3 separate regions of the Homo sapiens genome follow, and all the other regions are linked to region 1. Evidence: promoter capture Hi-C in 16 types of primary human blood cells and fetal thymus (Javierre and others, 2016). All regions are on one chromosome and are shown on one strand. Each heading gives the region's core, a stretch centred on a gene start or on the middle of the fragment in contact. The rest is flanking DNA. Distances are from core to core; before and after follow the strand shown.

What was found. Contacts are between HindIII fragments. The CHiCAGO score rates a contact against its expected background, and 5 or more counts as called.
Region 2: the fragment with the promoter of FUT4 here is called in contact with a fragment that was not itself captured in region 1 in 1 of 17 cell types (total B cells); the score reaches 7.2 in total B cells.
Region 3: a contact is called between the fragment with the promoter of KDM4E here and a fragment that was not itself captured in region 1, in 4 of 17 cell types (total CD4 T cells, activated CD4 T cells, M2 macrophages and 1 more). The highest score is 6.9, in total CD4 T cells.

Annotation. Positions count from the first base shown.
Region 1 is chr11:96,425,814-96,429,688 of GRCh38, reverse strand. No RefSeq gene overlaps it. Among named protein-coding and RNA genes, the nearest start is that of JRKL, 38 kb to the right of the region's middle. RefSeq lists a silencer at 1,864-2,076. The HindIII fragment of the contact is 4,059 bases long and covers 1-3,660 here.
Region 2 is chr11:94,541,643-94,545,517 of GRCh38, reverse strand. FUT4 (fucosyltransferase 4) reads right to left here and starts at 1,597. Exons shown (of 1, transcript NM_002033.4): 1 at 1-1,597. The coding sequence starts at 1,384. PIWIL4-AS1 (PIWIL4 antisense RNA 1) reads left to right here. Exons shown (of 5, transcript NR_135093.1): 5 at 1-186. RefSeq lists an enhancer at 1-20 and a silencer at 840-1,409. The HindIII fragment of the contact is 5,462 bases long and covers 1-2,914 here.
Region 3 is chr11:95,023,193-95,027,067 of GRCh38, reverse strand. It overlaps KDM4E (lysine demethylase 4E), which reads right to left and starts at 1,810. Exons shown (of 1, transcript NM_001161630.1): 1 at 1-1,810. The coding sequence starts at 1,510. The HindIII fragment of the contact is 8,893 bases long and covers 1-3,498 here.

The DNA of each region.
Region 1 (3,875 bases), core at 382-2,881:
ACTGCCTTCCTATATATGTTGACACGGTTTCATTTCTTTCTTTTTAAAAAGATCAGTAGTTTAATATTGATTTATTCAATCAATATTAATAAGTGTGCAATAAAATCAACCAAATTCTGCTTACTGGTTTCTGTCTCTGATGTCATACTTGGAAAATCTGCCTTTCTAAGATTATGTAACCATTTATTTTCTTCTATTAATTTTGTTATTTCAATTTTTAATAGCTAAAATATTAACCCATCTGGAATTTGGATGGTGTATGGAATAGGTAAGAATCTAAATTTTTTTAACGATGGATCAATTGTTACAAAATTAGTTTGTATCAAACTCATTCTTTTCTCACCAATTTAGAATATTACTTTCATCATATATGAAATTCTTAAATATAACTTTTTATGGGGTTTCTAATCTCATTGAACTGTCTTTCTCTTCCTCTGCCAATACCAGGTGATTTTAATTTTAATTGTGTTTGTCTTTACTCATCTTCTTTCTTCATTTTCCTCAGAAAAAAAGGTTTAGCTCTTCTCTAAAATTTAATTATTAAAATTAACTTTAGAGCCACGTTGCAAAGTTGGGATTCCAATGGGAATTGCATTCTATTTGTGTAGTAATCTGAGGAGAATTTACTTCTTTACAATATTAATATTTCACACCCAAGAACATCCACTTAATCAAGATTCTTTTATGTTCCTCTACTTATTTTGTAGTTCTCTTCAAGAAAGACTTGAACCTTTTCATGAGAGTTATTCCTAAATATTTTCTAACTAAATTTTAAAAAGAGTTAAGATCTTGGTAATCCTGTCCTAATTTCTAAATATGGTCTATGTGCTTCAGCTATAGTCTCCTACACAGTGGTTCTTAAGAACTCTAAACCCTGAGATGAGGGGGAAAATCAATTGTACATCAAAATAGTAAATACTTGGTAATGAAGCAGTGTTACAGATTTTTATTCCGTCATTTCTAAATTTTCTTTATCTTTATATTTAAAAATAAGTTTAACATGTGAATGAGAGACCTATCACTTAAGACCCAAAACTCCCACACTTTCCATTTATGTCAATATATTATACATAGGTGTAGGCACCAAAAATTTTTGTGGTTAGTCACCCAAACTAGATTATAAAGGCTTTAATATTTCCCTGCACCTTTTATTCGTTATTCTTCATGGCTCCTAGTACAATATCATGAAAATAGTAAATGCCCAGTTGATGCCTCCTCAAGGAGTTATCAAGTGAATTGAGTGACTAAAGCAGAAGATGGAAAGAACTACAAAATTTGATGTGGCACATCAAAATAACTTGCGCACTGTTTTGTTTTTAAATTATAATTCTTGTAGGCATGTCTATGTCTTCAACTAGACTATAAGTATGTTGTCACTAGGAGCTGTATCTCATATTCCCTTTATGTATTCTCATATTCCCATCAGAACAACTTAGGGACAAATCATGGATTGATTAAAAATAAAACTTCATATGCTAAAGAACCAAAACCACATAAAAATGTCAAAGAAGACAAAATAGAGAATACATCTGCATCCTAAACAAGCATTTTTAGAGCCATTACCCACATTTTAAATAGGCCAAAGTGTCTCAGTCTGAGGAAAAGGATTATAGCAAAGCAAGCATTGTTTTTGGTGGTGGCAGTAGTCTTCACTTTTTGTTATATTAGAAAGTGCAAGACAATAGTCAGGCGTGGTGGCTCACGCCTGTAATCCCAGCACTTTGGGAGGCCTAGGCAGGTGGATCATTTGAGGTCAGGAGTTCGAGACCAGCCTGACCAATATGGTGAAACCCCATCTCTACTAAAAATACAAAAAGTTAGCTGAGCGTGGTGGTGGGCACCTGTAATCCTAGCTACTTGGGAAGCTGAGGCAGGAGAATCGCTTGAACCCAGGAGGCAGAGGTTGCAGTGAGCCGAGATTGTGCCACTGCCCTCCAGTCTGGGCAACAGAGCGAACTCCGTCTCAAAAAAAAAAAAAAAGAAAAGAAAAGAAAAGAGAAGAAAAAGAAAAAGAAAAAGAAAGAAAAAAAAAGTGCAAGAAAGTAACAAGAATGTTTGTCATTTTTTAAAAATGAAACCTCGGCCGGGCGCGGTGGCTCACGCCTGTAATCCCAACACTTTCGGAGGCCGAGGTGGGCAGATCACGAGGTCAGGAGATCGAGACCATCCTGGCTAACACAGTGAAACCCCATCTCTACTAAAAATACAAAAAATTAGCCGGGCGTGGCGGCAGGCGCTTCCCAGCTACTCGGGAGGCTGAGGCAGGAGAATGACCTGAACCCAGGAGGTGGAGCTTGCAGTGAGTCCAGATCGCGCCACTGCACTCCAGCCTGGGCGACAGAGCGAGACTCAGTCTCAAAAATAATAATAATAAAATAAAATAAAAAATGAAACCTCTAGACAATATATTGTAGAACAGATAGATACAAATGCGGGTCATCTCTTTGTTTTTGCTGAGTCTGATAACATTAAGGTGAACACTGAACAGCCATCTGCTAAGTAATTAAACCTGCCGCTTATTAATGTAACTCTTGTATTAGTTCAGCATTGATGAACAATTTAATGGGTTGAGAAATTGCAGATTCAATTTCCTGTGTCACTACTCTCTCGTGTTCCCATAATCAAGTTAGATATGTTTTTACCCAAAACTATGTTAAATCAAAATAGTGTTAAAAAGAAGAGTCAATATTCTGATATACCACAAGATGGGGATGTTACTCCATCTTAAATGTCCCCATTGCCCTGCTCCCGCATCCCAACCCCTGTTTTGTTTCAAGATATTTAAAACTCTCCTGAAGACTAAATTTGGGTTTTCTTTCTCAAAAATTAAGATTTCAGATCATCTATGTTTCCAAATGAAGTTAGAATCAAACCATCTATAAAACAAAATGGAAACAGGGATATCCACTTTAAAATGTGTCAGGGATACACGCTTTAAAATGAGTGTATCTTTGTTTTTCTGCAGATTATATGCATTTGAATTTTGAACGGAGCTTCATGGTGGGCGTGTGTGTGTGTGTGCGTGTGTGTGTGTGTTTTATTCCGCAGGTGCTTGTTATCCTGTCTCTTCATCCACATGAAAGCCTCCTACATAGTAATTTTGTGAGTCCCTGTAATTGTCTCTCCCTTTTAGCTGTGCTAGTTCACATTTGCAACTCCAGTATGAAGTGAGTATGTGTGTTTGCGTTTCTTTGTCTTGTGAACATGTGACTGTGTCATCCTTTGTTTCTATTCTTCCTTATCTCTTCTGTTTTTCCATTTAAAAAAATCTTAATACAGCAAAGGTATCTGGTAGTCTATAATGATGCTAAAAAATTTCTTTCCTTTCACCCACTATGTCTCTCCATAATAGTCACTAAAGGTCTGATTTTTAAAATTAGTTGTTATTATCAAATTGAATTAGGAAATGAGAATATTTTATATGTTTTATATGCTCCCTGGTGTGTCTTGCATGTATGTGTGTATGTTTATTGATTTTTTTATTCCTCTGGGTGCTTTGTATTTAATATAAGAGGGGTTCCTTATTCAATTGTTTTACATACTCCCTGGACACTGACTTAAAAGAAAATCTCCTTTTGATCCATTACGTCAGTCAGAAATCGCTGTTTCCAGGGGAATTTAAATTGGTTTTCTCAGCAATTTATTATTTTATAAGAAGCTTGGCTACCCTACTAATCAAAATTTTATATTCTTATTTAACATGGGATTAAATTGCCTAATTCTACTATCAAATTCATAAAATATTTTCTTTTAAAAAAGTAACTATGTTCTTTCACTCCTATTCAACATTACACTGAAAATCCTAGCTGATAAAACAGGACAAGATAAAGAAATAAAAGGCATAAGATTGAGTAGAATAAATAAAACTGTCTTTG
Region 2 (3,875 bases), core at 348-2,847, 1.9 Mb after region 1:
AGTCGTCCACGTGGATGAAGGCGCCGCGGGGCACAAAGCGCTCGTAGTTGGCACGGTCTGGGCCCAGCACCACCGGCACCGCCCCAGCGAGCAACGCGTTGCGCCAGAGCTTCTCGGTGATATAATCCAGGTGCTGCGAGTTCTCGAAAGCCAGGTAGAACTTGTAGCGGGCCACTGTGTGCAGGAGCCCAATTTCGGGCACCGGCTGCCCCGGCCCGCCCCGGCCGAACACGTCCACGGTCACATGTTGGCTCAGTTGGTGGTAGTAGCGGACCCGGGCCTGGCGCTCGTCCCAGTGGCTCACCACCCATGCCACCAGCCCCTGTTTCCTGGACAGTGGCGGGGCCAGGCCTGAGGGCGGGTCGCCGGGGTGGCTTCTGGGGTAGAGGTAGCCATAAGGCACAAAGACGTCCGAGTCCGCCCGGTAGGAGAGCGTCCAGTTGAAGAGGTTACTTGCCAGGCTTCGCAGCCCCGGGGAGTGCGAGGGCGACTCGAAGTTCATCCAAACCCAGCGCTGGCCCGGGGGCCTGGGGCTGGAGGTCGCCAGGGCTTCTGCCGCCGCCGCTGCCTCCTCGTAGTCCAACACGCGCAGATCCACCTCCTCGGCAGTGTGCGCCTGGATGCCCCAGGGCGGGGGCCAGTCGGGGGGCCCCTTCACGAGGTCGCGGTGGTGGAAAAGCACGGCCTGAGCCTCTCCGTAGGACGCGCGGTCGGTGAGCAGGCGGCAGCCGCTGATGTTGAAGCGCAGCCGGCAGTCAGGGGGCGGCCTCGGGGCGCTATCGCGCCCCCCGAAGGGCTCCCACCACAGCAGCACGCCCACCGGTCGCGACGGGGTTGGCGACGCCCAGGGCAGCGGCGGCAGCTGCCCCCAGCAAGCGTAGGTGATCAGCGCCGTACACGTCAAGCCGGCGGCCGCCAGCACACAGACGGTCCATGGCAGCCCCCGGCCTCGGCGCCACCCGCGCCGCCCGCCCGCCGCCGCCGTCGGCGAGCCCCACGGTGCCCCCATGGCGCGAACAGGCAGCGCTGCCTCCGCTCGCCACGCGTCCGCAGGCGTGGAGGAGCGGCACCGGCTCTCATGCTGTAGCTGCGGCTCCAGCCGTCGCTGCCGCTCGCCGCTGGCCCGGGAATGGAAGGGGGCGGTCCCAGAATGCAAAGGCCGCGGGCCCTGCCCTGCTCCTCCCAAGTGCCGGGCGGGGCGAGCCGCCAGGGCAAGGTGAGCTGGCCAGGACGCCCAACCGGGCACCGCCCGTCCCTTTCTTCCACTGCGCCCGGGGCCCAGCCGGCCCGACCAGGCCCCGGGAGCCTCCTGCGGCGCCTCCGCCCACTCCTTCTCCCAGCCCGCGCCCGAGGGCTTCCGGGCCGCGCCCCACAAGCGCCTCATCCGCTACTCTTGATTCTCTCTCAACTGATCCGGTTTCCCTCTGCGCGCGCCCACCGCCCTGGCCCTCGCTCACTGTGGCCCGAACCCTCGCCTTCCAGAGGGAAGGCCCGGTTCATCCCTGGGAAGGTACAGGAGGCTCGAGACCTTCTAAAGCAGCTGCCGCGCAGGAGCAGGCCCTAGAACAGACGGAAGGCGGACCCGGCGCCGCGGAACGGAGGATAGCGTCGGCTTCCTGCCGTTGGGCCTAGCCACCCGCCAGCGACGCCCGCCGGAGGGAGGGATTGAGGGAGGGAGGGAGTCCAGAGGCCGGGGGAACGTGCGAGCAGAGGCGCGGCCACCGCATCCGTGGCCAGGATCTCGTGGCCCGCCGAGACGGTCGAATTGTGGAGGCAGCCCGCAGCGGCGTGGCCTTCAGAGTCTCTGCATTTGGTGAAGAACTTAAGTTTTCAATGTGAGTGCTCATAAGAACATTTCCTTTGCCTGCCAGCCCAGTAAAGGATAGAGAACAAAATGTTTTCTTAGCAATCAAAACATGTTCTTTCCTTTGGTCCCCTACCAAATAAGTCTGACTTGCCGGCTCATAGTAGTATTGCTTGTACCAAGACGCACAGGACTCATAAACCAAAGATGAAGATGTGACCCCCCCAAGGCCCTTGTCGTCAAGGAATTTATTGCCTGTTCAGTGAGATGAATGAATGAATATCACTATTAATTTTACCAAGCACTTAAAAAACATTTTCTGCACCCATGAAAGTTATGCAAAATAGTTTGGATGATAAAATGATGACGAAGATAAATATTCTAGCACCCAAGTTAAGGGTGTAAAGACAGTATCGCACTGGCCTCTTCTACCTTATTAGGCGACACTGGAGACATCTACGTCTACAGTCACTTGAGAAATTTTTTACCTACGGGTTGAATTTGAATTTCTGGGTGTTCGCTTTGGTTTATGATATTCAACTTTTATTCAGGGGATTTCCAAATAGATCAGGGGCGGGGCTGCTGACCTAAGGAGAGGAGAAAGTTTTGAGAGAAGTTTTAGTAGATCACAGCTGTGCATCAGTGGAGTCCCACTGATACTAGGGGAGAAATAGACAGTGCTGGGAATGGGGCAATCCTGCCAGGTGTTTTTGATGTTATGCCTACAGAAAATAAATTTGCGTTAGCCATATGAATTTAAGAATGTTTTCATTAAAAATCAAGTATAGGCCAGGCGCGGTGGCTCACGCCTATACTCCCAGCACTTTGGGAGGCCGAGGCGGGCGGATCCCGAGGTCAGGAGATCGAGACCATCCTGGCTAACACGGTGAAACTCTGTCTCCACTAAAAATAAAAAAAAATTAGCCAGGCTTGGTGGCGGGCGCCTGTAGTCCCAGCTACTCGGGAAGCTGAGGCAGGAGAATGGCGTCAACCCAGGAGGCGGAGCTTGCAGTGAGCCCAGATCGCGCCACTGCACTCCAGCCTGGGCGACAAAGCGAGACTCCGTCTCGGAAAAAAAAAAAAAAAAATCAAGCATTGTGTGTAAAAGCTTCTATAAAAGTGGCTTCCGGGTGGCGCTCTCTGCAGGGCCACAGCCTCAGTTTGGAGACTAGATGGAGGATGTTAGGTGTTCTGGCTAGGCCCATCAACCTAGTAACATTTCCTCCTGCACAGTAAAACCTTTCATAATGCTTCTGGGGTTTTTTGTTTGTTTGAAAAACAGAAATTAGAAATCAAATATTTTATTTGAAATTAGACATTTCAGTGACTTTTTTCCACTCTTACTTTTAATTAAAAGAAAAAGCTATAAATGCACAAATTACTTGTTTAAACGAAATAAAGGAAAAAGTGTATTGGCTTCTCTTTTTATGCAATTCAAGAATCCAGCCATTTATTCACATTCTTCTCCCTCTTCAGTTAAATAAGACATCACAGATAGAGCCTAACATTGTGTCTGGCACGTGGCCGGTAGGCATTTGGGAAATATTACCCTGCTTGATTGCTTCCTTCCACCACTCCCGATTTTCTCTTAAGCCTCCGAATGTTCCAATTAAGCCATCTTTTTACCTGAAGAATGCCCGAGGTCTCATGCATATCAATTTTCTTTGTGCCCTCTTACCTCGGTAGGGTTGAGACCACAAACTGCCCCTACTATACCCTTATTTGATGTGGGAGGAGGGGATACTAGGTAGTAAGGTGTGTCTGGATGAATGGAAACCAGTCGTGACTTCGCAAATTGCTGGTTGAAGGTCATACGTGATCATTGTGCATCTCATACATGCACAAACATTCACAGGGGACTGGATTGTTCTTATTTTAAAAGAGCCATTGGTAGGGTAGAGGAGAAGGAAAGGGAGGAAAGGAGTTATGGGAAATTAATAAATTTACTCACTTGTTCATTTAACAAATTGGGAAACAAATGCAAAACACGGTTTCTACCTTCAAAAATCTACGAGAGAAACAGATAGTGGGGAGGGAAGGGATCATGGAAGGCTTTGAGGAGGTGGCTCCT
Region 3 (3,875 bases), core at 561-3,060, 1.4 Mb after region 1:
GATTTGTCATCAAATCATTGGCAAGCGGGAGCTGAGGCCTGTGGCCTTGAGCTCTACTCCTTGTACCCATTAAAAGGCGCCTCTTGGATGCAGGCTGAACAGTTGGCTCCTCAGTCCCCAGTTCTCGAGTACAACAACCATGACCACGACCACGACTGCAACCTCGACCTTGACCTTGACCACGACCACGACCACGACCAGAACCCCAGCTTCCAGTGGAAGGGAGAAGAACCCTGGCTGACATCCCCAGGGTAAGTGACTGGGTCTGGGTATGATATGCAGAGCTTTGGAATGCGGATCCAGGCACAGCATCAGTGCCACAGCCTTTTGGGTTGTAACAGTGCCCTGAGGACACAGGCTGTGTGGGACACTGGGCTGTGAGGTTTGGGAGAAGCCTCAGGCCCAGAGCAGCTCTTCTAAGTACTATATCATCTCTCCAGTTGCTCAGCTCTTGGCTTTCTGCAACCCTGGGCTCTGTGTGTTCCACAATGGCCAAGTCTTGCCTGTGTTTCCAGAGCTCATAACTCTCGGGTTGCACAATGCGCACAAAGGGGTCCATGGAAAAGGTCACTGTCGACTCCCCACAGCTACACTGAGAGGCCATTTTGCCATAATCAATCCATCGTGGAGTGGCAAAATTAATGGCTTCTGCGCAGTTGAAGCCGTGATTGAAGCCAGCATGGTAGCCATAGGGAAAGGTCACCATGAACTCCCCAGCCTCCTGAGTCATGCAATTGAAGGGAATCCCATTTTCCTTGAGAACTGTAGGCGAGATGAGGGCCACTTTGTGCCGCAGGAAGGCCTCACAGCCCCGAGAAATGTCTGGGAAGAGCTCCCTGGCCAGGCGTTCCAGGTGCTGACCATGTTCTGGGGGCACCACGTACCAAGTTTTGGGCTCCCCAAAGTGCAGGTAGTTGATGCTGTAAAGGTCCATGTCCTCTGTGTGCCAGGCAAACGTGGTCTTCCACATGCCAAAGTACAGGTAGGGTGTGTTGACACCCTCGATGACAACCCCACATTCCTGCTCCAACAGGTCCAGAATTGTTCCCAGGTGTCCTAGGTTCCATTGTTTAGTGCTTTCTTCAAATAAGGAGCCGCTGATATCAGCACCATAAATTGGTGGATTACCGGGGTGGCTCTTCCAGTATCGTTGCTCCAAATCTGCAAAATTCTGGTGTGGCGGAGTCTGATATTTTTTACTGTTTGCCAAGCGGCGATACTGCCCCACCCTCATGGCTTTCTTCTTTTTATGGTATTGAGTAAACACACCTCCCTGCCCAGAGGTCACCTGCTGGAGGGGAGTGGCTATTAAGATGTCTTCGATATCATCATACATCTGTCTGGCTTTCCATTCCTTGGGTGGAATTACCTTGGCAAGGCCAGCTTGATGTGCGCCTTGGGACTCCATGTAAGCAACATATGTGTTGAAATCTGCAAATTCTTCCATGGTTGGGTAAAACGTCATGATGGTATGACTCGTGTTCTGGGGACTGGAGTGCACAGACTTCATGGCTGCACACAAGAAGCAGCTGACTCCCACGTTCTTGGGTGTCCTCTAGATGCCTGAGAGTTCTGGGGAGTAATTTCTTTTCTCCCCTTTGTTTTTCAAAATACTTTGGTTTATCTGTGAGACAGTAATTCACACTTGGACTTTTGAACAAGTGAGATCTTTCACAGGCTTTCTGACTCCCCAGGGGGACTCCACTCTAGTCAGTATACTTTTTTCTGAAGAAGTAGAGTATGTCCCAGCTCTGTGAGTTTCCTCAGTTGGGGGTGTCACTGTGAGGCTTCTCCTGATTCTCAGGCTTGGGTGCACTAGTAGCAGCTAGTGTCCCACTGTACCTGGGGGTCTCTTCTAGGAAGTCGAAACAATACACCTAAACAACAACAACAAAAGATACAGAATATTCATATTTTTTAAATAAGTATATAACCAGACAAAAGAAATATTCAGCTAGCATTAAGCTAAGCTAAAACATATGCTAACATCAGGATATGTAAACATTGTCAGGCCTCTGAGCCCAAGCTAAGCCATCATATCCCCAGTGACCTGCACATACACATCCAGATGGCCTGAAGCAACTGAAGATCCACAAAAGAAGTGAAAATAGCCTTAACTGATGACATTCCACCATTGTGATTTGTTTCTGCCCCACCCTAACTGATCAATGTACTTTGTAATCTCCCCCACCCTTACGAAGTTTCTTTATAATCTCCCCCACCCTTAAGAAGTTTCTTTGTAATTCCCCCCACCCTCGAGAATGTACTTTGTGAGATCCACCCCCTGCCCCCAAAACATTGCTCTTAACTCCACCACCTATCCCAAAACCTGTAAGAACTAATGATAATCCCACCACCCTTTGCTGACTCTCTTTTTGGACTTAGCCCGCCTGCACCCAGGAGAAATAAACAGCCTTGTTGCTCACACAAAGCCTCTTTGGGGGTCTCTTGACACGGACACGTGAGACATTTCGTGCCGAAGACCTGGGTCAGCGGGACTCCTTCGGGAGACCAGTCCCCTGTCCTCACCCTCACTCTGTGAAAAGATCCACATACGACCTCCAGTCCTCAGACCAACCAGCCCAAGGAACATCTCACTGATTTTAAATCAGGCAAGCAGCTCTTTTTACTGTCTTCTCCAACCTCTCTCACTATCCCTCAACCTCTTTCTTCTTTCAATCTTGGCGCCACCCTTCAATCTCTTTCTTCTCTTAATTTCAATTCCTTTTATTTTCTGGTAGAGACAAAGGAGACACATTTTATCCCTGGACCCAAAACTCCGGCGCTGGTCACGGACTCGGGAAGGCAGCCTTCCCTTGGTGTTTAATCATTGTGGGGATGTGTCTCTGATTATTCACCCATGTTCCATTGGTGTCTGATCTCCGCATTCACCCACATTATCATTCACCCACATTCCCTTGATGGGCAAATCAACTGTGGGGACAGCTGCTTTGGCTGCTCCCCTACGTTGCAGCTCAGGGCTGCTCCCCACCCCCCTTCTCTGTGTCTCTACCCTTATTTTTTAAACTTGCCTCCTTCACTATGGGCAACCTTCCACCCTCCATTCCTCCTTCTTCTCCCTTAGCCTGTGTTCTCAAGAACTTAAAACCTCTTCAACTCTCACCTGACCCAAAATCTAAGCATCTTATTTTCTTCTGCAACACCACCTGGCCCCAGTACAAACTCGACAATGGTTCTAAATGGCCAGAAAATGGCACTTTTGATTTCTCCATCCTACGAGACCTAGACAATTTTTGTCGAAAAATGGGCAAAAATGGTCTGAGGTGCCCGACATCCAGGCATTCTTTTATACATTGGTCCCTCCCTAGTCTCTGCTCCCAAAGAGACTTGTCCCAAATCTTTTTTCTTTCTCTCCTGTCTGTTCCTTCAGTCTCCACCCCAAGCTCTGAGTCCTTTGAATCCTTCTTTTCTACAGACTCATCTGACAATCCTGTTTCCCTTGCCTCCATAACTGTTGTGGGTATTGACAGCCAAGCTTCTAAACCTCTTAAAACTCCCCAACTCTGGTGCCAACTTGGACAACATTCTTTAATGCACTCATTTTTAGTTATCCCCACCTGCCCAGCTCCCTTATTAGGTCGAGACATTTTAACTAAATTATCTGCTTCCTTCACTATTCCTGGGCTACAGCCACACCTCATTGCTGCCTTTTCCCTCAGTTCAAAGCCTCCTTCGCATCCTCCCCTTGTATCTCCCCACCTTAACCCACAAGTATGGGATACCTCTACTGCCTCCTTGTCAACCGATCATGCACCCCTTACCATCTCATTAAAACCTAATCACCCTTACCCCGCTCAATGCCAATATCCCATCCCGCAGCAGGCTTTAAAAGGATTAAAGCCTGTTATCACTCG